Regions from separate parts of the Homo sapiens genome. Here all the other regions are linked to region 6. The links are contacts of gene promoters, found by promoter capture Hi-C in blood cells and fetal thymus (Javierre and others, 2016). All regions are on one chromosome and are shown on one strand. Each heading gives the region's core, a stretch centred on a gene start or on the middle of the fragment in contact. The rest is flanking DNA. Distances are from core to core; before and after follow the strand shown. Region 1 has its middle 390 kb from the start of MIR548AD. Region 2 overlaps VIT (vitrin). Region 3 has its middle 440 kb from the start of MIR548AD. Region 4 has its middle 420 kb from the start of MIR548AD. Region 5 overlaps VIT (vitrin). Region 6 holds the start of CRIM1 (cysteine rich transmembrane BMP regulator 1). Region 7 has its middle 410 kb from the start of MIR548AD.

The links. Contacts are between HindIII fragments. The CHiCAGO score rates a contact against its expected background, and 5 or more counts as called.
Region 1: a fragment that was not itself captured here is called in contact with the fragment with the promoter of CRIM1 in region 6 in 4 of 17 cell types (total CD4 T cells, total CD8 T cells, naive CD8 T cells and 1 more); the score reaches 5.7 in total CD4 T cells.
Region 2: a fragment that was not itself captured here is called in contact with the fragment with the promoter of CRIM1 in region 6 in 1 of 17 cell types (monocytes); the score reaches 6.2 in monocytes.
Region 3: a fragment that was not itself captured here is called in contact with the fragment with the promoter of CRIM1 in region 6 in 4 of 17 cell types (activated CD4 T cells, naive CD4 T cells, total CD4 T cells and 1 more); the score reaches 6.9 in activated CD4 T cells.
Region 4: a contact is called between a fragment that was not itself captured here and the fragment with the promoter of CRIM1 in region 6, in 6 of 17 cell types (naive CD4 T cells, total CD8 T cells, naive CD8 T cells and 3 more). The highest score is 6.6, in naive CD4 T cells.
Region 5: a fragment that was not itself captured here is called in contact with the fragment with the promoter of CRIM1 in region 6 in 9 of 17 cell types (M0 macrophages, M1 macrophages, M2 macrophages and 6 more); the score reaches 17.3 in M0 macrophages.
Region 7: a contact is called between a fragment that was not itself captured here and the fragment with the promoter of CRIM1 in region 6, in 9 of 17 cell types (total CD8 T cells, activated CD4 T cells, non-activated CD4 T cells and 6 more). The highest score is 9.6, in total CD8 T cells.

The regions. Positions count from the first base shown.
Region 1 is chr2:35,858,631-35,862,252 of GRCh38, forward strand. No RefSeq gene overlaps it. Among named protein-coding and RNA genes, the nearest start is that of MIR548AD, 390 kb to the left of the region's middle. The HindIII fragment of the contact is 5,131 bases long and covers 1-3,622 here.
Region 2 is chr2:36,796,570-36,799,877 of GRCh38, forward strand. All of the region lies in intron 12 of VIT (vitrin), which reads left to right. The region is part of intron 1 of LOC124905990 (a long non-coding RNA gene); the gene reads right to left. Among named protein-coding and RNA genes, the nearest start is that of VIT, 100 kb to the left of the region's middle. The HindIII fragment of the contact is 1,901 bases long and covers 608-2,508 here.
Region 3 is chr2:35,910,181-35,913,919 of GRCh38, forward strand. No RefSeq gene overlaps it. Among named protein-coding and RNA genes, the nearest start is that of MIR548AD, 440 kb to the left of the region's middle. The HindIII fragment of the contact is 1,569 bases long and covers 1,450-3,018 here.
Region 4 is chr2:35,892,823-35,896,554 of GRCh38, forward strand. No RefSeq gene overlaps it. Among named protein-coding and RNA genes, the nearest start is that of MIR548AD, 420 kb to the left of the region's middle. The HindIII fragment of the contact is 7,448 bases long and covers 1-3,732 here.
Region 5 is chr2:36,774,611-36,778,034 of GRCh38, forward strand. VIT (vitrin) reads left to right here. Exons shown (of 16, transcript NM_053276.4): 9 at 392-457. All of the region lies in intron 1 of LOC124905990 (a long non-coding RNA gene), which reads right to left. Among named protein-coding and RNA genes, the nearest start is that of VIT, 80 kb to the left of the region's middle. The HindIII fragment of the contact is 4,595 bases long and covers 1-3,424 here.
Region 6 is chr2:36,353,292-36,357,027 of GRCh38, forward strand. It overlaps CRIM1 (cysteine rich transmembrane BMP regulator 1), which reads left to right and starts at 2,487. Exons shown (of 17, transcript NM_016441.3): 1 at 2,487-3,332. The coding sequence starts at 3,002. It overlaps CRIM1-DT (CRIM1 divergent transcript), which reads right to left and starts at 2,279. Exons shown (of 2, transcript NR_037631.1): 1 at 1,797-2,279; 2 at 1,458-1,690. The HindIII fragment of the contact is 11,087 bases long and covers 1-3,736 here.
Region 7 is chr2:35,875,288-35,878,594 of GRCh38, forward strand. No RefSeq gene overlaps it. Among named protein-coding and RNA genes, the nearest start is that of MIR548AD, 410 kb to the left of the region's middle. The HindIII fragment of the contact is 1,063 bases long and covers 1,220-2,282 here.

The DNA.
Region 1 (3,622 bases), core at 356-2,855, 500 kb before region 6:
AGACATTTTCATATCTCACTATGATTGTTCTTGAAATCTTGACCTATTATTTAGGTAGATCACAACTTAATGATGGTAGGTAGGTATTAGACCCACCATTAACTAGTGTTATTTAATGCATAAATAAGGAAGCACATAATTATTATATCATAAAATTGTTTAATACTTTGATTCTACATTTCAATATAATTGGCTTTCTTCGTAATCCTATGTATTTTATTATATACATGTTAAAACATTATTCTAAGAAAACCTTCACCAGATTTTCAAATAGGTGCAGGGCAAATAAAAAGATTTAGAAACGCTACTGCAGATACTAAAGACAGGGGAGAATTAGGTAATTTGATTATGAGGATCTAAAGAATCAAATCAATAGAAACCAGGGGAAAACCAGGCAGAACCAGACTCCTAAATTTCTGAGAGTTACTATATTTCTTATGCCCATATTTGGACTTTTTATACCTACTGTGTTAAACATTTGAATGTATCTTTGAAGGATCTTAGCAACAAATATAAAAGATGGAACATTTTGTTTCTGCTATAGTTTAAGTCTCTGTATGCTACAGTTGACGAGACATCAGGCTGTATTATACTGAGTCAAATCACTCAAGTGGACTACCAGTTAAAGAATATAAACGGATTTGGGTTTGGAAGAACTAATGAAAAAAATGTAAACCTTATCACATCCATTATTTATTTTCTCTTATAAAGAAATGTTAAAGTCATTTTTTCATAACTTAAAAACCTATGTTTATATATAGTCTAGTTTTGATTTTAAATAAGTGTTTTGTCAGCCCCCAGTTATCACCTAAACTAATTTGAGAAACAGAATTTGTGACTAGAATTACAAATGAGTGGGTTTGGAACTTATGGCACTTAGGGAGTAAAGGACCATCAACAGTAATTACTTCATTTCCCCTTGAAGGCCCCTGAGAAGAAAAGTATAGCGTTTTCCTACTGAGGAAACTCAGTGTTCAGTAGACCATGCACAATTATAAAATTAGCTAATTGATAACTTATTAACATTAGAAGCATGCATGTTCATTAGTAGATAGACTTTTAAAATACATTTCTGTTCCAATTCCAAATGAATATTTTAAATGAGACCTATCAAGAAACTTTGTTTTAATTAATTTTATATTTCATCCTTTGTATTGTTTATCTCTGATTAGTTCTAGTCTCTTTTAGAAGTTCAAGCATAAGTAAAGGAAGGCACCCACTATGAGATCTTTGAAGTTTCCTGCAATTACAATTTGATCCTTGTCATTATTCTAAGAATACTGAAAATCATCAGCAAAACTGCAACAGAGAGCAGCCCAGATAAAGAAAGGCCACTTCTGACTGCCTTCTTAACATAGGAAGGCACAATCCTTAGTTCTCAACTGTATGAGGGCAATGAACACTGTATAAAGGAAGAATAGCTGATAGGAGCATAAACATGTGCTCAATATCCCTGAAGATCCATTTTATGAAAAGACAGTTTGAACTATTCCGCTTGATCTACAAAATTCTGTAGTAAATTTTGCTCTGCTGAAAATAAGAATGAAGGGAGAAAAATAGAGATTCCCTCTATATTGCAATGGTCAAACAAAGGTTAACTAAACAATGAAAATGCTTGGTTCTAAAAATCTCTTAATGCTGTGGTTAATGGAAGTGTTTGAAAGCTACTTAATAGAAGGGTAAAGCCACGTGTCCTAGGGAAAGTGATTTCATGGGCCTCAGATAACTCATGAGTAAAAGGAAAAATTTAACAATCCTTTCACAGGGATGTTGTAAGGATTTCAGGAAACAATAAAAGAACAGTGCCTACTAAAGTGCCTGACACATAGCAGATACTCAATACATTTTAGTACCCTGCCTTCTTGTGCTATTTCTTGTATCCCTACTGACCATCAAGTGGAGTAGCACAATCAAGAACAAATGAAATGCATGTTGATTTCAGGTGTCAGGTGAGATAAAATCAAGAGGAAAAACAAACATAAATTTAAAGTGATTGAACTTGAAAAGGGACTAAGGCTAAAGGAAGTAAAGGGAAGAGATGGCAACAAAGGAATACATCTCAAATGAGTAATAAAATAGCTCACGCTTAGATGTCCTTATTTCCGAGTTTGAATCTGAGAGCTTTTTTTAGTTTCTCCTGAGTCTATAGTCTCTGCAGTATTCTCCCTCAATTTCCAGGAAAATTCCTGTCTTTATGATGTTTCCAATAATTTAAAAGATATGAATTTACAGCAGTACATAATAATCTTTCTTATTGCATAGTGTCTTAGGGGTAATTAGAGGATGAAATTTTCTATTTTAGAATGCTTGCTATGGTCTAAATGTGTCTCCCCAAAATTCATATGTTGACATCCTAACCCCCAAGGTGACGACATTAGGAGGCAGGGCCTTTTGGAGGTAATTAGGTCATGAGAGCAGAACCCTCCTGAATAGATTAGTGCCCTTATGAAAGAGGACCAAGTGAGTCCACTGTCCCTTCTGCCAAATGAGAACATAGTGAGAAGTCAACAGCCTGCAACTCGAAAGAGGCCTCTCCCCAGAACTCAACCGACCATGCTGGCACCCTGACCTCACCTCTGGACTTACGAGAAATAATTTTCTGTGTTTAAGCTGCCTAGTTGATGATATTTTGTTATAGGAGCCCAAACAGACTAAGACAATGCCATAGCCCAAATGGCTGCCTTATTGAAGTTAGAATGAGGGACGAGAAAAAGAGAAAGGAAAACAAAGAGATGAAAGGAAAGAAAGAGAAAAGGAGGGAGGGAGATAGAGAAAAAGGCTGAAAGAATGAATATAATTCACTTTTTAAAAATCTGATTTCAATTCGGTGAGTAGAGGTTGGTTTTGAGAACAGAGACTCATCGTGTTTCTGTAAACCAAAGTCCAATAAGGCATGGATTGTTTGCAAAAATAGAAGAAAGTACATCACCCTTCCCTTCTACTTTTTCCTCTAGAATCCTATTTATACTTCTTTGTTGCTATACCTTCAGGAATGCAAAATGGAACTGGTAAAATTCCAGAAAAGGAAAACTAAGGCAATCACAAGGATTCAGAGTGGGACTAGTGCTAGGGAAGACAGCCAGCAAGACAAGAAGGGACTAAAAGGAGTAGAAAGACAAAATCAGGATGCTAAGCAGATTAAAATCTTAAAAATATGAAAATGTGATGATTGATGTGACTAAAACAAGCATAGACTTAACTTTCAAAATCTGAAGTAGTAGGGTGTGTTTCCTTTAAAAGAGATCCTTTTTAAAACTGAGCAAGGTAAACTTAGGACGAAAGGGAGTAGGGAAGGGGAATACTTTTTATACAGAGGATAACAATCTTCTGAAACTCTTAACCCCCAAGAGGTAGGCAATGTCAGCAAATTTAAGTGGATTTTAAAGGGGATTGGCTGGATTTATATACCACAATGCCATCAGTGGAGATTACAAGGAGCTGACGCATGCTCTACCTATAAGGTTGATGTCAGGATGAAAAATTACATCCACTGATGGTTCATTCCCTATGGCCATAGTTTGCACAGATCTGGGGGCTGGATGAAACATTAATTCAAACTAGTCATGGTTATTTCCAAGTTTTTTGGTTTTTTTTTTTTTTTTTTTGAGACAGAGTCTCGCTC
Region 2 (3,308 bases), core at 308-2,807, 440 kb after region 6:
TCAGGAAAATGACTAAGTGAAGAGGTTCAACATTAAATACTTTTTTTCTGTAAAAACTTTTTTTTTTAGTTTTTTGTTGTTGTTGTTTGTTTGTGTTTGTTTGCCCAGGCTGGTCTCCAACTCCTGAGCTCAAAGGATCCTCCTGTCTTGGCCTCTCAAAGTGCTAGGATTACAGGCGTGAACCACCATGCCTGGCCTGTAAAAACTTTTGAAAGGAACCTTTATATTTTTGCTTTTTAAATTATTTGTCGATGAGCAACGTTTAATTTATGATTGGCTACTATTTCTTGACAGTCACCAGACACCCTCAGGAAATTGTGCAAAGTGAGAAAATCTAGCCCACAAATCATTTTCAAATGTAATTCAGTTTTTATAAATTAAAAATTTTACTATTAATGTTTTACATTATAACTAATGTAAAAAATGTACAAATAACATTATGTTTGATGGACAATTACATATTTATTATTGTCAGTGTCAATTTTGCAATTTTTCATTTTGTAGCCAATATGTTTTTTTGTTTCAACCAATTTTTTTTTTTTTTTGGCTCTGAAAATGTTGATAACCCTTGGTCACTAGAGGAAGATCCAGACTTTAAGGACTCTGAAGCTTATACAGTTTGGGGGCTCTCTTAAAGTGAAGATCACAAAATGACAAATACTGTACACAATTAGACGTCTTGGAAGAGGCATTATAACTTCTTAGTTAATCTGTTTCTGTGAAACACTTAGAGCCAACTGGATAAAACATCCACTGCAGAAGCTGCCCTGGTTAGGACCAGGTAGGAAACTCTGGCAATATTCAGGAAAGAGATGAAAGCCCAAACTTGGGGACGGAAAGGATGGGAGAAATGTGAGAGATATTTAGAGGTAGGTCTGACAGGACGTGGTATTTGATGAGGAGAGTGTCAGGAACACACACTGCTGGATGACTGAGTGAGTCAGAGAGGAAGGCAGATGGGGAGATGGGTGGTTGGGTGGATCAGGCTTGGAAGATAAACAACTTCAGGTTTGGAAATATCTAACCTGAGGTGCCTTCCAGAGGAAGCTGTATGGAAGCCATTTTATGTATATGTGAGGTTCAAGAAAGGGGACCAACCAGTGCACAGACAGCTTTTGGCACATGAATGGTCTGTGAGTCCTGGGAGTTGATGAAATCTCCCAGGGATGTGCATAGCCAAGAAGAGATGCATGATGGGGCTAGCACCCTATGGAACACCAAAGTTTAGAGGTTTAGAGATGCACAGAAATAGAACAAAGAAATGTTAATGCTGTTAATTGAGTGCCTGTAGGCGCCACATATTATGCACGGTGTTGGTTAGAGAAAGCTGAGTCAGGCAGAGAGATTGTCAGCTGGGGCTGGGAGTAAGGGAGATGGGTCGCTGAGCTTGGAGGGTGGGCACGATTGGGGCTTTCCAGATGAGGGAAGAAGTGAGCAAATGCACAAAGCTAGAAAAGTGGGAAAGGGTGAACAGTTCATTTTGACTAGAACATGGAATATCCTAAAAAAGAGAGTGAAAGAGAGAATAAGAAAGAGAACAGCCTTAACATGATAGTTGGAAATTAAATTATGGATGCTTTGAAAGCCAAAACATCAAGTTTAGCAATGGGAATTTCTGATGATTTCCAAGCAGGGGAATTTTGCGGGCAGAACTGAGGACTGAAGGTTCCTCTAGCAGATGGCCACACAACTAACACTACAGAGACCAACACAGGGATTCTTAGGGGCAGCCAGAAGCATGGGGGCCAGGACTCCCGGTGTTACAGTAGACATACAGGGTAGGGAATAAAAGCGAATGAATGTATGTAGAGGAATGGCCAGGACCTGAGGGATGGGGGCTGATGGGCTGTATAAGTAAAAGTGTACATAGCATTTACTGAAATTGCTTTGTAAAAATATAAACCCAGCCACGTACAGTGGCTCATGCCTGTAATCCCAGCACTTTGGGAGGCCAAGGCAGATGGATCACGAGGTCAGGAGTTCGAGACCAGCCTGGCCAACATAGTGAAACCCCGTCTCTATTAAAAATACAAAAACAAATAAGCCAGGCATGGTGAAAGGTGCCTGTAATCCCAGCTACTCCAGAGGCTGAGGCAGGAGAATTGCCTAAACCCTGGAGGCAGAGGTTGCAGTGAACCAAAATCGAGCCACTGCACTCCAGCCTGGGCAACAGAGCAAGACTCCATCTCGAAAAAAATAAATAGATAAAATTTTTAAAAAATGAACCCATAAGCCCTAGAACCCGAGGGGAAGAATACAGAGTGAAAGCCACAGTGCTCCTCCACTGTGTGACTCCTCCTCCCTGAATTTGTGACTTTAGCCTCAGATCAAGACACTTCACACTGTAGGTTGATAGGAAGGTCACGCCCAGCTCAACACCCCCATTTCCCCCATTCTGCTGATTGCTGTGTTGTTGTTTGTTTCTGTTTAGTCCCAACCATAGAACCTGGTTTTCTTCTGGTGAAATTTCATCTATTTGGGTTTTTCTCCAGTGCCCCACTTTGGTTAAGCTTGTTTTAAATTTCCTGTCTTCCCTGAAGGTGTCCACTCTTTCTGTTTTTCATCCCTTGCCTTGTAAATAAGCCACCCTCTGGGGATAGCATAGATCATTTTGAGATAGAGAGCAGTTTGGAAAACAGGGATGGAGGAAAGGAAGCGGGGAGGCAGACACTTTCTCCTCTCTCCCAGGTCCTGGTGACTGGTTTCCTCGTGACTGCACCACTTGTCCCGGTCCGCATGGACTCACTAAGAATCAACCCATGGTCAGCATCCTTGAGGTTCCCACCTGAAACTGCCCACAACCGCTTCTTCCTGGATCCATTTCTGGTGTTTGTAGAAAGGCTACTTTAAAAAGTTTTCTTGGCCAGGCATGGTGGCTCACATCTGTAATCTTGGCACTTTGGGAGGCCAAAACAGGACAATAAGCTGCTTGAGTCCACGCTTTTAAGACCAGCCAGGGGCAACATAGCAAGACCTTGTCTTTACAAAAAATGAAAAAATTTGCTGGGTGTGGTGGCATGCACCTGTGGTCTCACCTACTTGGGAGGCTGAGGTGGGAGGATGCTTGAGCCCAGGAAGTTGAGGCTGCAGTGAGCCAAGATGGGGCCACTGCACTCCAGGTTGAGCAACAGAACGAAACCCTGTCTCTGAAAAAAAAAAAAAGTCTTCTCCTTCTTGAAAACTTAGTAGCCTCTATGGCTAGGCTTGGTGGCTCATGCCTGTAATTCCGGCACTTTGGAAGGCCAAGGCAGGCAGATCACCTGAGGTGAGGAGTTGGAGACCAGCCTGGCCAACATGGCAAAACCCCA
Region 3 (3,739 bases), core at 984-3,483, 440 kb before region 6:
ATGCTCTATGTGTAGCCACTCCACTTCCATTAACCACACAGGGTTTCAATTTTGATGTCTTGATATTTTAAAAATTAGAATTGCTTTTCCTTCCACAGAAGCTGCTCAGAGATTTTTTAAATTTGCAGCAGTCCAAAGCGAACGTGTCTGCAGAAGGAGCCATAAAGGGATAAATCACCCCAAGTATGACACCTTACTGAGTAATGAAAAGCATTGAAGGAGAAAATTCTCATACAAAAAGTAAGATACAAGCCAGGCATGACAGCTCACACCTATAATCACACCTATAATCCCAGCTACTTGGGAGGCTGACGCATGAGGATTGCATGAGGCAATATAGTAAGACCCCTCATTCTTAAAAAAACAATGTGTTAATTAGCTGGATGGCATGGTGCTTATCTGTAGTCCCAGCTACTTGAGAGGCTGAGGCAGGAGGATACTTTGAGCCCAGGAGTTTGAGGCTGCAATGAACTACAATTGTGCCACTGCACTCCATCTCGCATAACAGAGTGAGAGCTCATCTCAAAAAAATAATTAAAACATAAAAAACTGTATGAAAAACTACAAGGGAGGAATCTAGGGTTAACAATAGCAATGTAGATGTGGCGGAGGGGGGGGAAAGGCTTCCTCCTCTATTACTGTCAAATGGTTTATTTGTGCCAGATATTTTCAAGTGGAGAATAACAAAGATATAGCCAGCGAAGCAAGTAGCTTCAGAATCAACCTCCCAACAAGGGTTCCTAAGCAGCTCTGATGAAATTCATAAGAAATTATCACCAGAGTCAGTGTGAAGCAGCAATAGCTGCAGATACAAGGCTATCTGTGAGCTGAAAACCTCTTCTTGATCACTGTTTTTATGGGGTGTTATGTGCCTGGCACAACTTACCTCAGGAGCTGGACTTGGATACAGGGAGGAGAATGGAGACAGAATAAAAGCTTCTCATGGAATAAGTGTCCATGGGGCTTGTGGGTCTCTTGCCTGAAGCCAACCCCACTGTCACAAATGAGAAACATACCTAAGATGCTTTTTTATTTCATTGAGTAAAGTTCACTTTCTACACAATCATCCCATTATAGTCTGTCTTCTCTCTATATATGTCTCTATAAATTTTATCTATAAAATATATTCAAACTAAAATGTTATGAAGCACTACCTTTCATACTTTGATCATTTATTCACATTTCACCTTGAAGAAGAACTGTCCCTCATAGTTAGGCACAGATTTTATTCATGTTGGCACCACCTTGACCAGGAAGTAGATTTCTAAGAATTTTGGATAAAGAAGACTTTTCATAAAAGATATGTGCTTCCAATGACATAGATAGTAAAAATTCTAATTGATGCTGTTGGAATTTGACATGCATAGCTTTGTCTATTGCATTACCTTCACGTCAATCCTATATGTAGTCAGAGAAATGGGGCATCAATGAGGTAAATAGAGTAGAAAAAGCTTCACAGATTTTAAAGTTTAAAAATCTAGTTATGAATTAACCTTATAGAACAAATTCAAAAGCAACCAAAAATCTTATAAAACATAATGGCAAGTTTAAAAATGTTTTCCACCTTCAACCATACAACTTTAGGGCCAATTTAATGTGTATAAGTTAAAAACAAAACAAAAGGTCTTATTCTCTATGGTACTGGATAAGTGAACTGAAGGCATCTCACACTAAGGACGTGCTTCTATTTGAAAGCCTTAACCAGTCTCAGTAGCTTCTGTCTTTTTGGAGTTTCTTCTCTCTTTGCTTCATGAATTGTGTGAGGCTTTTGCTGAATATAAACAGTGCATCTCTCATTAGTGCCACAGACAATAGCTGCCTGCATCAATATTACAGGCTAACATTCTCCTTAGTGTCTTGTACTCAGGCATCTCTGCTTCCACTCTTTGTGACCAACCTACTCCTGTTAACCAGGCAGGTGCTACTTGATGTCCTACTGCCAGACATGCTTTCAACATAACCAGTCCAAAAGAGCAGAGTTAGCCCAGGATTTTATATACATGTAGCAACTTATTGGAAATGTAAGTCACTGTAAAATAAAACCCAACAAAATGGAGAGATGATCAAATCAAAGCAGACACACTGAAAGCATTTGACACTACCAAATTACAATATACCCCTCCTGGTCAGTTTAAAGAAAACAATAGACAGCAACAGAATCTAAAAAGAAAGTATTACTCCCTGTAAGTGGTTTGGCCAATTCTCAGATACAAGAAAAGTCTCTTTGAAGGTGCAACTTCAAATGATGAAATAGGTTATAACTGCAAAATCTAACACAAAACAGACAGAATTTAGTCCCTTGAGAAATTGAAGTTGAAGAGAGTCACAGTGTAAACCACAAATGAAGGATGTGGAAAATGGTCACCATCAATTTCAGCGGCTTTGGAAGGCATTTGGCAGCCTGTGCAGAAACACCAAATAATACCAAGTGATGGATTTAGCCCTGCTGTCACTGCTGAGCTGATGGATACAAATCACTCACCTTTTAAACTCCAAGTTGCAAAACTAGGATGCATTTGAGCTGTAGGGGGATCAAATGGATGAATGTTGGATACCAGCAAATCAGAAGGTACATACCCCAATGTAGTCTGTATCAACTTTCTTAAATTGGTTGCAGTAAAGAAAATTAATGTTCTCACTAAATTGTAAGAACTGGATTCTCATATCCAATGGTTTTATAATGATAGTCTAAGGAAAGGTAATGCAGTGGATGCTTCAGGTAAGGGACATTCCCAGGATGAGTTCCAATGCAGCAGGTGGGTGGGCCTGTGCCACCTCTGCATAAATCTGAGCAGAGGACAGAGTGTGAGCCAAGGTCATTTACCAGCCATGTGAACCTGACGTAGCCATATCAAAGGAATGTAAAAATGTAAATAAATATAATACAAGGTTGTCTGAGGGTTGAAAGAATTAATTCTGCAAAAATACACTGAAATGTATATGTCTAAGGATGGCCATTTAAAGCCAATCAACCAATTCTTCCTCCTCCCCAAATTTCTCTGAAATGACTAAAATACAAGCTTAAATTGTATTTTTAAACTTTATTAGTGCTGAAAAACAGGAAAGATACTTGTCATTAATACAAATATTTTTAAAGGATTTATTTAAGATGTAGTAAAGGTAAGATCAGGTTATGGAAAATAATAACCATTTGTCAAATCAATCAAAGTGATGGAGGTAAAGAAGGGACCCTATTGGCTTCTAAGTGAGCAGGGCTTTCCAACAGAGCTCTGGAAACTACTGAGCTAAAACTGCCAGGAGCTGTACAAATTCAAGAAATGAAAAGATTTCAGAAACTGCCCCAGTGCCCACCCAGATATATAGAAACTCACTGCGGCACTCATTTTCATCCTTCCAGCTAATGTGGCCAGCCCACAGGAAAGCCACGGGCCTTGCCACTCCAGACTCATACAAACACAGCCATGTCAGTAAGACAAGGAGTGAGATCTCACACACACCCATAAATGGTAAGAGAGTTAGGCCAAATCCCATTTTCTCTGATAGCTGTTTCCATTCTTCCCTTGAATAGAAGACTTTTTGATGGATTACAGGCATCCCAACCTTCCATTTCTTAGGGTAGTGGGTGGGGATAGGCCATAGATCAGGTGGCAGAAAACAAATCACTTAAACAACTTCAGGAACTGCAAGTATAAATATGGACACATACACACAACCTTTGCAGCAAAGCTAATTTTCCTGCCAAAATAAGAAAGTTCTTTCTTATAGCCAACATCCTAAT
Region 4 (3,732 bases), core at 601-3,100, 460 kb before region 6:
CATACCTGGGTGCTCAAGAGTTGAGCACATATATATTTACAATTGCTACATTATCTTGCTAAATTGACTCCTTTGTCACTGTACAATGACCTACTTTATTTCTTTTTCTAGTTTTTGCATTGAAATCTATTTAGTATAATATAAGTATAGCTACTCTTTCTCCATTTTGGTTTCTATTGGCATGGAATATCCTTTTCCAAGCCTTTATTTTCAGTCTATGTGTCTCTTCATAGGTGAAGTGTGTTTCTTGTAAGCAACAGATGTTTAGGTCTTTTTTTTTATTCATTCAGCTACTCTATTTTTTTAATTGGAGAGTTTATTCCATTTACATTCCATATTATTACTGATAAGTAAGGAATTACTCTTGCCATTTTGTTATTTGTTTTCTGGTTGTCATGTGGTCTTCTCTTACTTCTTTCTTTCCTTTCTCTCTTCCTTTTAGTGAAAGTGATATTCTCAAATGGCATGTTTTAATTTCATGTTTTATATATTTTGTGGATCTGTGGTATGTTTTTTTATTTGAGGTAACCATGAGGCTTGCAAATAATATCTGATAATCCCTTATTTTAAACTGATGGCAATTTATCACTAATTGGGTAACAAAAAAACAAACAAGTAAAGAGAAAACTAATAAAAACTGCATAGTTTAACTGCATTCCCCTGATTTTTAACCCCTTGTTGTTTCTACTTTTATTATACTGAAAATTTGTTAGAGTATTATTTTTAGAATTTCTGCTAATGATTTGAGTAGTTTATTCACCACAATTACAGTGTTACACAATTTTGTTTTCCTGTGCACTTACTATTACCAGTGAGTTGTGTACCTTCAGATGATTTTTTTTTTTTTTTTTTTTTTTGCTCATTAATGTCCATTTCTTTCAGCGTGAAGAATTCCCTTTAGCATATCTTGTAGGACAGACCCACCCAGTGTTGATGAAATTTCTTAGCTTTTGTTTTTCTGGGAAAGTCTTTATTTATCCTTCATGTTTGAAGAATACCTTTGCTGATGTACTATTCTAAGACAATAGTTTTTCTCCTTCTACACTTTAAATATGTCATGTCACTTTCTCCTCCCTATATGGTTTCCATTGAGTAGTCAGCTGCCAGACATATTGGAGCTCTATTGTATGTTATTTGTTTCTTTTCTCGCTGCATTTAGGATCCTTTCATTATTCTTGACCTTTGGGAGTTTGATTATTAAATGGCTTGAGGTAGTCCTATTTGAATTAAATCTGCTTGGTGTTATGCAATCTTCTTGTACTTGAATATTGGCATCTTTCTCTAGGTTTGCCAAGTTTTCTGTGATTATCCCTTTGAATAAACTCTATAATCCAATTTCTCTCTCTACCTTCTCTTTAAGGTCAATACTTCTTAAAGTTGCCCTTTTCAGGCCATTTTCTAGATCTTATAGGCATGCTTGATTCCTTTTATTTTTTCTTTTGTCTCCTATGACTGTGTGCTTTCAAATAGTCTGTCTTAAAGTTCACTAATTCTTTCTTATGCTTGATCAATTCTGCTATGAAGAGATTCTGATGCATTCTTGAGCCTGTCAATTTTTCAGCTCCAGAATTTCTACTTGATTCCTTTTAATAATTTGAAACTTGGTGTTAAATTTATCTGGTAGGATTCTGAGTTTCTTCTCTTTGGTGTATTAAATTTTGTTAAACTTTCCCAAAACAGCAATTTTGAATTCTCCATCTCAATGGTCACATTTCTGTCTCTCCAAGATTGGTCACTGGTGACTTACTGAGTACATTTGGTTAGGTCATGGTTTCCTGGATGGTCTTGATGCTTGTAAATGTTTGTCAGTGTCTGGGCACTGAAGAGTTATGTATGTATTGTAGTCTTCACAGTCTGGGCTTGCTTTTACCCAGCCTTCCTGGGAAGGCTTTCCAGGTATTTGAAGGGACTTGGGCATTGTGATCTAAATCTTTGGTCACTATAGCTATATCTGCTTTAGGGGGCACTCCAAGCTCAGTAATGCTGTGGCTCTTGCAGACTCACAGATATACTGGCTTGGTGGTCCTGGGTAAGATCTGGAACTATTCCCTGGATTACCAAGCAAAGACTCTTGTCTTCCCATACTTTCCCCCAAACAGATAGTGAGTGTGAGTGTGTGTGTGTGTGTGTGTGTGTGTGTGTGTGTGTGTGTGTGTCTTGCCCAAGGCCCACAGTAACCACAGTCTGGCTACTGCCAGTGTTCACTTGTGGCCCAAGGGCTTGACAGTGATCAGGTGGCAAATACATCCAGGCTTGTGTTCTTGCCTTCATGGCAGTGAGTTTCCCCAGCCTCAGGCAAGTCTGAGGATGCCATCTGGAAGCGAAGGCCTGAAATCAGGAACCTTAGGAATCTACCTGGTGCTCTACTCTACTGTGGCTGAGCTGGCACCCAAGCTACAAGACAAAGTCCTTCTGACTATTCCCTCCCCTTTCCTCGAGCAGAAAAATCTCTCCCTGTGGCCACCACTGCCTCTGGCCCACAGCAAGTACTGACTGGTTACAGTCAATGTTCACTCAAGGCCAAAGGGCTCATCAGTCAGTTTGTGGTGAATGCTTCCAGGCCTGAGTCTCTTTCTTCAGGGAAGGGTGGGCTCCCCCCTGTCCCAAAGCAGGTCCAGAAATGTCATCCAATAGCCAAGGTCTGGAATTGGGGACCCCAGGAAGTGGCTTGATGCTCTACCCCACTGTGACCAAGCTGGTACCCAAGCTGCAAGACAAAGTCTTCTTTACTCTTTCCTCTCATTTCCTCAACCAAATGGACACTCTCCCCATAGCACCACAGCTGGGAATGTGTTGGATCACACCTGAGGCCAGCACACCTCTGAGTCTCACCCAAGGCCTGCATTGAGTACTGCCTGGCTACCACTGCTGGTTATTTAGGGTCCAAAGGCTCTTTACACAGCAGGAGCCTAATAAATCCTACCAGGACTGGGTCCCTTCCCTTCAAGGCAGAGGATCCCCTTCTATCCCTATCCCAGGGGGATAGGACTACATTTAGGAATGTAGTCCTGTAGCTAGGGCCCGCAATGGGGGCCTCTGGGCTCTGCTGGGTGCCCTATCCTACTGTGGCTGAGTTGGTATCCAGGTTGCAAGACAAAGTCCTCTTTACTCTCCCCTCTCCTTTCCTCAGTCAGAGGGAAGGAATCTCTCCTGGAGCTGTGAGCTGTACTACCTGGGCTTGGGGGAAGGTACACAAGCACTCCCTTGACCACCCCAGCTGGTGTCTCACTAGGTTGCTTGCAGCCTAAGCCCACTGGCTCCAAACCCACAGCACCAGGAGTTGCCCAGGACTTGCAGTCCTTGTGGCCTAGACTGCCTTTCAAGTTTATGTAGGACCCCATAGCCTTTTAGCCCATGATGGTGAGGCTTGCTGGAACTCAGGTTCCCGCTGCTGGGATGGATTATTCACCTCTGGCTAGGGAAGGTCTAGATGCTCCCTCCGTGGGCACTGGATGAGTTTTGCCCCATGTTGCTTTCTGCTGTGACAGGAAACCACTGAGTTCCAACACAAAGTCCCACAGTCGCGCCACTGTGCCTCCCCCAAGCACACAGATTATCTTCCTGTGCCACAAAGATGCTGCTGGGAGATGGAGGAGGGATATTGTAGGGGATTCAAGACTGTCTTTCCTACCATCTTCAGTGCCTCTTGCCTTAATATGATGTTAAAACCAGGTACTGTGATCACTCATCTGATTTTTGGTTCTTTTGGCACTTTCTTGTGTGCTGCTTTTT
Region 5 (3,424 bases), core at 326-2,825, 420 kb after region 6:
GGAACAGGGGCCCAATGGGCTCCTCTGGTCAGGGCGAGCAGCTTCTATGAGCTTCACAATTGCACCTTTGCCAATGCACATGCTGTTGTCCTGGACAAAAAGGCTTGAGAATGAGAACACTGGCCAGGGCAAGGACTCCAAGGCCATCTTAGGCCTCTACAGACTCGTGGGACTCTACAGGAGCCCAATCCATGGAGCACTGTTTCCTCCTGTCCCCTTGGCCAAGATTTTTGCCTCCTCTGCAACCCCCAGAAGTACAACCAGGCACAGAGAGCTCGGCCGACTTCCAAGGAAAATCTGAACTAAGGTAATTTTCACCGGGGGCAAAATAAGGAAAGAAAGCAGCCTGCTGGTTGTGTGTAAATCGGCTGACCCTGTGTAATCCCCTCAGGTATCCAAAGGCAAGATCCTTCAGGAGCTGCCTTCCAGAAACCTGTTGGAGCGGATGTCAGCCTGGGTAAGCTGCCCACTGCTTACCATCTCTGCTCCCTAGGAATTTGCTCTGTGGCACTTTGCAAACATGAGGACCTCCCCACACACTTGTTCTTGGCCTCTGCAGCTCAACTTCAGGTCACCAGAGTTTGGGAGCATGCTAAGATATTTTAACCTCGAGAAAATGTCTCTTTGATTGATCTGTTCTCAGTGCATCAAAGAGAAAATCTTTGTCAACGAAGACATCCAAGGGCTGTCATTACTTTATGTCTCCTCAAGAGGTTCCCTCACTAAGCAGCCTCTTTGCCTCTCTGCACCTACCAGGCCCATCCTCAGACAGTCCTCCAGGATAAAGCACAAATACCCAGATACAGCACATGGTTCGGATATGGCATGGGGGATGGTTGGCAAGGAGGCACATAACCTGATTTGCATCTTCAATTTTTTACTGCCTGACAATTTTGGGTTTGTTTCAATGCTGTATTCTGCTGAATGTATTTGGCCTCATTCCCTTTTTCTGAGTTTACCATCCTCCAGTTCTATAGCTCTGGGATTCTCTGTTTCTTCTCCATTCTCCTTTATGCTCCCAATAATGCCACTCTGTCTCGACCCACACAGATGTTCCTAGATGTTCCTTTACCTTCAAATCCTACCCAATTTCTGCTGCTTCTCTCCTCACCATCATCCCTGCAACTTTGCTCTGAGTGCCTCAGAGTCTCCCATGAACTCTCAGAGTGTTCCTGACTTAAAGGACTCCCCCAACACACTCTAGGTGCTCAGACCTAGACTAGCTATGAAGCTCCATTATGGCTCCTACAGGGGAAGGAAGCCATTTGCACACCCTGAGTAAAGGCAGGTAAGAACATTTGGAGTTCTTAGATATCCTTCGACCAACTCTCATCTCAGATGCAGTCATGTATACAAGGCAAGCTGCCCAGTTCCTCAGCTATAAAATCGTCAGATTATGGAATTGGAAAGAATTGTATAAAGTACATCTGGTCTAACTTCTCACCTGAAAATGAATCACTTATGGTGTGCCAGACAGAGGCCTTTACCCTATATCGAATAACTTCAAGTGGTAGGGAATTCCCAGCCCCTTCATTTGGTGGGTGGCACTATTAGACGTAACTATCCAGAACTTCAGCTCCTCATTACTAATTTGTCTAAACCAGTGGTTCTCAAAGTGTGGTCCAAAGACCCCGCTTTCAGAGATTCTGTGACATCTTCCCTTCTCTGACTACATGTTGTTGTGAGGACAGATTTTCTCCACATATTTCAACAACAACAACATATCACAACTGACTGCAGGAGCTGATAACAGACTCCAGCTATCTTCTATTATGATAGACATTGGAGACATTTGCCACTCTTCTCACTGAAGCCTTGGTTTTAGAAAACAGTTTTTTTTCAGTAAAAATTAACGCTTACATTAAAATATAATAATTCTATTGTCACTTTGAAGTAAATTAATAGTTAGGCCGGGTGCGGTGGTTCACGCCGGTAATCCCAGCACTTTGGGAGGCCAAGGCAGGTGGATCATTTGAGCTCAAGAGTTCGAGACGAGTTTGGCCCACATAGTGAGACCCCGTCTCTATTAAAAATACAACAATGAGCCGGTGGTGCGTGCCTGTAATCCCAGTTACTCGGGAGGCTGAGGCAGGAGAATCACTTAAACCTGGGAGGCCGAGGGTGCAGTAAGCTGAGATGGCGCCACTGCACTCCAACCTAGGTCACAGAGTGAGACTCCATCTCAAAAAAAATAAAATGGCCTGGCGCGGTGGCTCACACCTGTATCCCAGCACTTTGGGAGGCCAAGGAGGGCAGATCACGAGGTCAGGAGATCGAGACCATCCCGGCTAACACGGTGAAACTCCGTCTCTACTAAAAACACAAAAAATTAGCCAGGCGTGGTGGCGGGCGCCTGTAGTCCCAGCTACTTGGGAGGCTGAGGCAGGAGAATGGCATGAACCCAGGAGGCGGAGCTTGCAGTGAGCCGAGATCACGCCACTGCACTCCAGCCTGGGCGACAGAGCGAGACTCTGTCTCAAAAAAATTAAAATTAAATAATAAAATAAAATAAGTAAAAATAAAGTAAATTAATAGTTAAACAAATTGTCAGTATTCTGTTTCAAATGAGAAAGTGCACAGTTGTAATTTCTAAATGATAAAAATTAATAGATATAACTCGTACAAACTAAAGGTCTTTGGGGTCTTTGACAATTTCTGAGAGCATAAGAAGGCTGAGAACCTTTGAGAGTGCCTTAAATTTGAGAGCCTTTCAAATACATGAAGCTAGACTTCATGTCTTTTTTTATATCTCATCTTTTCCAGGATATCTCTTTAATCCCTCCAATAGGTCTTTGCTGGACTTGGCAGTACACCCTCTAACTATGCTGTAGACTATTAATAATTCATACACCAGGGCACCCCGAGCAGAACACAGTGCTGCCAGGGTAGTGTGCCAGGCAATTGCCTCTCTAGTCCTCAATACTCTGCTCCCACTAAAACACCCCAACTTCCATTTGGGGTAAGGCTTGTCTCACCACTGGCTCATCTCCTACTGAGCTTGCAATACCTAAAGTCGCTGGGATTTTTTATCATATACCTCTGTAGAAGCAGGTCACCTCAATCCTGTCTAGACACAATCGAGTTTTTGAAGCCCACACTGGAAAATCACATATCTCTATTAAATCCTTCCTTCGTTTAGTCGGCTGCAATCTTCCTGAGTATTCGTTCTGTCATTGAATGTGTTAACATCCTTGTAATCTTTGTGTCATCTGGAAAATGGATAAACGTGCCACCTGTCTCCATTCCCTTTACTGATAAAAATATATCACATGGGGCAACCGAATCCTGCGATCCGCACTAAACACCTCCTTTGTGTTTAGATCAACCCAGACACAAGCAGTTACATGTGGACCTGATGATGCTGTCATCCTCCTTTCTACAGGACACCAGGTGTCACCCATGAGTGATTCCTGCCACTCTCTCC
Region 6 (3,736 bases), core at 1,237-3,736:
TCCCCTTAAAAATAAATAGAAGCTAAACTTTGACAATGCTTATTACCTCCTTCTTTCCTAACCACAGTAGCTTTCTCACTTCTGCCTTTTTCTCATCACCTGACCTTGGCTTTTCCTGCAGGTCCTACAATGTTATCTGCTACATTTTAATGTCTTTATACTTGCATTTGAACAGAAATACAGATAACCTCCTCTGCAAGAGTGGGAGGGACCTTTTAACACAGAGCAATGATGACAGTTTGTTGGCAAATCCCACACTGAAGTGCTGGTGCCTTGTTCGGTGACAAGAAAGAACAATGTTTAACAATGTGTGTTTTATTTTTCTTCAGTTTTTTTGTTTGTTTGTTTTTGAGACAGAGTCTTGCTCTGTCGCCCAGGCTGGAGTGCAATGACGCAATCTCGGCTCACTGCAACCTTCACCTCCTGGGTTCAAGTGATTCTCCTGCCTCAGCCTCCTGAGTAGCTGGGATTACAGGCATGCGCTACCACACCCGGCTAATTTTTGTATTTTTGATAGAGACAGGGTTTCACCATGTTTCACCATGTTGGCCAGGCTGGTCTCGAATTCCTTACCTCAAGTGATCTGCCCACCTTGGCCTCCCAAAGTGCTGGGATTATAGGCATGAGCCACCACGCCCAGTCTCTTCGGTTTTTCTAATAGAAAACCTAGCATATTTTAAACGATTTTGCCACTTAACACTTATTATGGACCCACAGGGTATGAGGGCCTTTGGAGATCATCTAATCGGACTTCCCACCCAACTACAGGAATCATTTCATTGCAACAACTCTTTAAACCCGTCTAGAAAATGCAATGCTCTCTCCCCTTTTCCACGGTTGAACATCTTCCTCATGGCCCTATAATAATCAATGATAATTAATGAGCCTCTTCCTCTCCTTGGACAAAGAAATATGATAGGAGAAATGTTTAGTTTGCTGATGCCCATCATGGGGGAATAGTCCACTGGTAACTCTGGCTTTTGGGTTCAGGATTAGACAGAGTGGTTAAACTAAAATATTTATCGTAAGTATGAATTTGTTCCACAAACATAACATTTCAAAGGTAGCTTTGTTTCCTCTTTCCTTGCACTGCCAGCTATTAACTTTCGGTTCATTAGTCACGATTTTCAGAATCCACTTGGCTGCCACCTTCCTGCAGCCAGACCATCTTGGATCAGAGGGTGGGCCAGCCATTCCCACGTCACACCTGCCACGGGATCGATTTTTTCCCCCATTGACCACAGTCACTTTTTGTCAATTAATTAATGTTATTCACCTGGTACCCATCTTGTGAATGGTAGGTCACTACGGAGCGGATTACTACTTCATATCCCATCAATGACAGAGCCATCATTACGAAAACCTTTTCTGACAACCACTGAAGAGAAACCATCTCCACACCGTGCATTTTGCATCACTTCCGTTGCTTCTTTACCTGATTTATCACAAAGACTATGTACCACACATCTTCTTTATTAATGCATTGACAATCAGTGAAGACAATGAAAACCCACCACTTTTGTCCGTGAACTGAGAAAGAAAATGGCAATGTCATATGGCATTAATGATGCATGAGATCTATGGGTGTAGTGTCACGTCTAGGCGTGTAGTAATCCAGTCTTCGGCCTTACTCCAGGGAGAAAGATTCAGCTTTGTTACTTTCCAGTCACTCTCTCCCGTAACACAGCACCTTGGCACAGAAAGCAGAGCGACAAAACCCAGAATGAGGACAGTTAAAATTCAACTCAAGCTACAGCCATCCCAACGGTCCTCCCCAGCTCCCGCGGAATATTTACCAAGACCGTTTAAAGCACTTAATTAATTCACTTCAGCTTCGCTGGAGAGGTCTCAGGGTTCCCGAGACTCCATTACATAATATCTTTCACAAAGTCTATTCCCAGCTCGAATGGAAGATGGATTCTCATCCAGTGTGCGGAGGTTCCATGCCTTTGCTTCCCTTTCCCGGAGTTCGATCCGGCGATACCCTCCCGAGGCTGCAGCCATCGCCCCGGCCCCGAGCTTCTGGGGTACCCGCCACTCTTCGAACTCCAATCTGGCCCCGAAGGTGCAGCCGCCTCGCCCTCCTGGCTCCCAGGCCGGCCGCTGCGGCCACGGTGCCAGCGAGCGCCCGGGACACCGCGACTCTCGCTGCTCGCTGGGTGCGCCCCAAGCCCATCCGCAGCGCACCCGCGGCGCCGGGGCCAGAGCCGCAGCTCGGTGGCACGGCCGGCTCGGTGCGCCGGGCTCGGGGAGGAGGAGATCGGGAAGAGGTGGAGGCGTGTGAGGGAGGGAGGAAGGGCCCGGCCGCCCGAGAGGGGGAGGGGGAGGCGGAGGGGGCCGGCCGGGCCGGGGAGGGGGGGCAGCCAATGAGCGGCGCGCGGCGCGTGGGGGTGGGGGGAAGGTCTGGGGGAGGAGGTAGGATGGGGGAGGGCGCAGCCCGAGCGGCTGAGGCTCCAGCCATAAACAAGCGCCCGGAGGAGCGGCGCAGGAGTGAGGCGAGCGGGGCGCGCGGAGCGGACGCCGCGGATCTTGTGCTGCGCCACCGCGCCCACTCGGCAGCTCGGGAGGCGGGGACCGGCCCGGAGGCTGCGCCGCTGCGGGGCCGGCCGACTCGGAGGAGGAGAGGGAGGAGGCGCCGCCGGCCCGGGCTGGAGCCGAGCGCAGCAGCCACCGCCGCCGCCGCGCCAGAAGTTTGGGTTGAACCGGAGCTGCCGGGAGGAAACTTTTTTCTTTTTTCCCCCTCCCTCCCGGGAGGAGGAGGAGGAGGAGGAGGGGAAGCTGCCGCCGGCGCCAAGGCTCGTGGGCTCGGGGTCGGCGCGGCCCGCAGAAGGGGCGGGGGCCTCGCCCCGCGAGGGGAGGCGCGCCCCGGGGGCCCCGAGAGGGGCGGTGAGGACCGCGGGCTGCTGGTGCGGCGGCGGCGGCGCGTGTGCCCCGCGCAGGGGAGGGCGCCCGCCCCGCTCCCGGCCCGGCTGCGAGGAGGAGGCGGCGGCGGCGCAGGAGGATGTACTTGGTGGCGGGGGACAGGGGGTTGGCCGGCTGCGGGCACCTCCTGGTCTCGCTGCTGGGGCTGCTGCTGCTGCTGGCGCGCTCCGGCACCCGGGCGCTGGTCTGCCTGCCCTGTGACGAGTCCAAGTGCGAGGAGCCCAGGAACTGCCCGGGGAGCATCGTGCAGGGCGTCTGCGGCTGCTGCTACACGTGCGCCAGCCAGAGGAACGAGAGCTGCGGCGGCACCTTCGGGATTTACGGAACCTGCGACCGGGGGCTGCGTTGTGTCATCCGCCCCCCGCTCAATGGCGACTCCCTCACCGAGTACGAAGCGGGCGTTTGCGAAGGTACGGCCGCCCGCTGCGGGCCCCCTCCCACCTGGCCTGCGCCGCCCCCTCGGCGCTGGTTGTGCCGAACAAAGTTTGGGCGAGACTTTCTGGAGGAAAGAGGGCTCTGCGGGAAGAGGGGCGGCCGCCGCCCCCAGGAGAGTGCCCCCGCGGCCCTGCGTTCCCTCTCCTTGTTCCCCCCGACGCTTAGGCAGTCGCGGGCGAGGTTGGGTATGGTGGGTGGGGGCGAGCGAGTGGAGGATCGCCCCTGTCCCCGCGCAGACGCGCACACGTGTGGCCGTTCCTGCTGGGACTGGGTGGCCCGGCCTTGCTCCCCGAGGTGGGGGCGCCGCGGGCGGGGGGCACTGCAGATTCTGCCGCGCGCGAGCCCCTCGGGGAGCCCGGCCCTACCGCCCTCCCCGCAC
Region 7 (3,307 bases), core at 501-3,000, 480 kb before region 6:
TCTGGCCCAGGCTGTGTCTAGAAATGTACAGGAGCTGGGGCCTGTAGCAGGAACCTCACCACTCTGACTGGTGCCCTGTCCTGCTGTGGCTGAGCTGCTATCCAAGATGCAAGACAAAGTCCTCCCTCTCTTTCCTCTCCTCTCCTCAGGTGGCAGGAAGGGGTCTCTTCTGGAGCCCTCAACTGTGCATTGTGGGATTAGGGGAGGGAGATACCAGCACTTTCTTGGCTGCCCCAGCTGGTGTCTCAGTATGTCAGGTGCCCCTACAGTCAACTGTCTCTGGGCCTAGCTCAGCCCTAGGGCTCACCTACGAGTTGCAATCCTTGTGATCTAGAATGCCTTACAAGTTTACTTAGAGAACAAGAGCACTTTGGCCCCCAGTGGTGGGGTTTGGGGGCACTCAAGTTCAGACGGTTGGGATAGGCGATTCCCCTCTGTCTAGGGCTGGTTTAAATGCTCCCTCTGTGGACAGGTGTCAGCTGAGTTTGGTCTAGTTCACCTTTGTGCTCTGACAGGACAGCACTGAGTTCAATGACTCACAATTGCTGTGTTCTCCCTCCTGCAGTACCAGAGAGGGTCTCTATAACACGCCACTGTTGCAGAGGATGTGGGGGGAGCAGTGGCTTCAGTGATTCCAGACTGTATTTTCTATCTCTTCAGTGTCCCTTTCAGGGATATGAGGATAAAACCAGGTACCGTGAGAGCTCACTGATTTTTTGGTTCTTATAAAGATGTTTTTTTTCTGTGTAGATAGTTGTTAAATTGGTGTCCTTGTGGAACCTTCTATTCCGCCATCTTTTACCGCATCTCCCCACCTAGATTAATTAAATTTTTATTCTTTTTTTTTCCCTTGATGTTTTAGAGATTTGATTATCTGAAAGCAAAGACCTGTGCCCATGTCTGTAAAATTACTGTCCTGGATTACAAGTGACTCAGTGGCAAATTATTGTAATTCTACCTGAATGAGGAATGAGGTACCAGAAATTTTGTAATAAGGTCACCTCTGTGGCTTATATTTGGTTGTTGCTCCTGGCAGCCCAGTTCCCAGCCTGGTCCTCCAGCCTTCTACAATTCTGTTAGCTATACAAATAATTATATGATTCATTCGAAACAGGCATTTATTGCTTACACTTAGGAACCTGATTAATACAATTGGCAAAACTATTACACAGCCTTTAAATGAATTACCAAGCAGACCGCACATGGTCTCTTTCTCTAAAGCTTATTACCTCTGAGAACAAGTAGTTTTTTGAGCACCTCTCTTTCCTCAATGTGCATTTTTTCAGCAATCTTGCATTTCATTTTCAACCTGATATCACGTGTTCTGTTTCTTTAAAAATGTGTCACCCTTTTACTTTTTTGGTGTTCATGCCCAGGTTTCTAAAATTCCTATGTATTCCATTTTCTTTTCTATATGCTTTCATGAGATTTGGGCTGGTTGAGATTTGGGCTGGTAGGAAGAGTAAATCTTATTATCTAGGAAGCTATATCGAACTAAAAGTTATTTTATTTTGTATATGTTTTTTCCTGTTTTATTTCTAAAAATAAAATTGCTATATAAGTATAGTTAAAATTCTGTTTATATATGTGTATGTGTGTACACATATATGTGTATGTAAACTACATAGATCATTTGAAGACCCATAGAGTTTCTAACTTAATGAGGATGAGAGAGAAAACAAGCAAAGGCGATGGTATCCCATCTTACTGCACTGATGGGAGGCTATTATCATGATTGATACAGTGAGCTTGCTTTGAAGTTACATTGATTGTCAACCAACTGAATAAACATTCCATCCAAACTTAGGCCACATAGCTCCTCATTTGCTTTCAACAAAAATAATCTGCAGTGTGTTTATTTTCTCTTTTTGTTTGCATGTTTGTTTGCCTAAACCCTTGTTTTAGATGGACTCATGAAAGATAGGGTGGTGTCTATTTATTATGGTAAATTCGATATTTTCTGAGCTTCAGGTCTTCTAATTAAGTCATTACCTAGCTTTATTTAACATAGTGGTTCATTTAATTTTAAAAATAATTGTGCTACCAAAAAACCTTGAATAAAATAAATGTTTTATGAACTGAATCCCACTTTAAGTATATCCAAGTTCATTTAAGTGAATATTTTTAAAGCTAATAAAACTTCAATACTTTTTAATGCAAAGTTGTGGACACATAGTAGATACCCAATCATAATATTTATATGATTGATATTGCCCTCCCCTGCCCAGGAAAAAAACTTCTAATTTACCTAGTTTTTCTTTTTGTTATATTTAAATCTTAGAAGCTTATATTAGGTTTTCCAAAGGTAAGACACACCTGCATATATCTTTTAACGGCTTAATTTTCCACTTGCCTCAACATCACATTTCCTATTAGAGCCCTGAAGGCATTCTCTGTTTCTCTGTTTCCTGTAGCTTTGCTAGTTTTCTTCCGGTGAACTAAGATTTTTCGGGCACTCTATTTTCAATGTACTTTAAACTTCTGACTCTACTCTCTGAATTTTCCTGCTTCTCTTTAAACTTGAGTCAAGCTGTCAACACCACTTATTGAATGCCTGCTGTGAAAAAGATACAAAAGGAATCAAGACAACATTTTCTTTTCTAGGAGAATGTACAATCTACTTGATGAGACAGACTATACATTCCCATTAAAATAGACTAAAACATGCCAAAATAGCTTGAAATAAGAATGTATTAATTAAGTATATAAGTGTTAATATGTACTGTGAAAGAATGCTATGTTCTATAGTACTGAGAGAGACTGATATGGAAATTCCTTTTACATCTGAGTTTTGAATCTCAGGCCTATCAGATGTCATGCCCTTTTACATAACAAATATTTTATGATACTCCCATTATTATCCTAAAATGAAATTAATAAATGATAAAATCTAACAATGAGCATAATTTTAATGAAATTAATATAATGCTACATAAAAGAGAATAAAACAAAAATAATTCATTATCAGATAACATGTATTTTAAAATAAAACTCGTCAGACATGCACACTAGCTGACAACATAGTGTCAGATGATACTTCTCCCGTTGAGAATAATGGGAAGTAGGAAAACAGATCTTTAATGAACAATAGGCCGAGCATTACAGAGCCTTCTTGTTTCAATTTCATTGGTTTCCAAACCTTATTTGCTTCAAAATCATATGAGAGAACTTCTGATTTATCTACATAACACATGCTTACATCGTGCTTACTATGCCTGAAAGTGTTATAAACACTCTACAGATATTACCTCATTTAATCCACTTAACAACCCTTTAACATAGTTCTATTATTGCTTCCATTTTATAG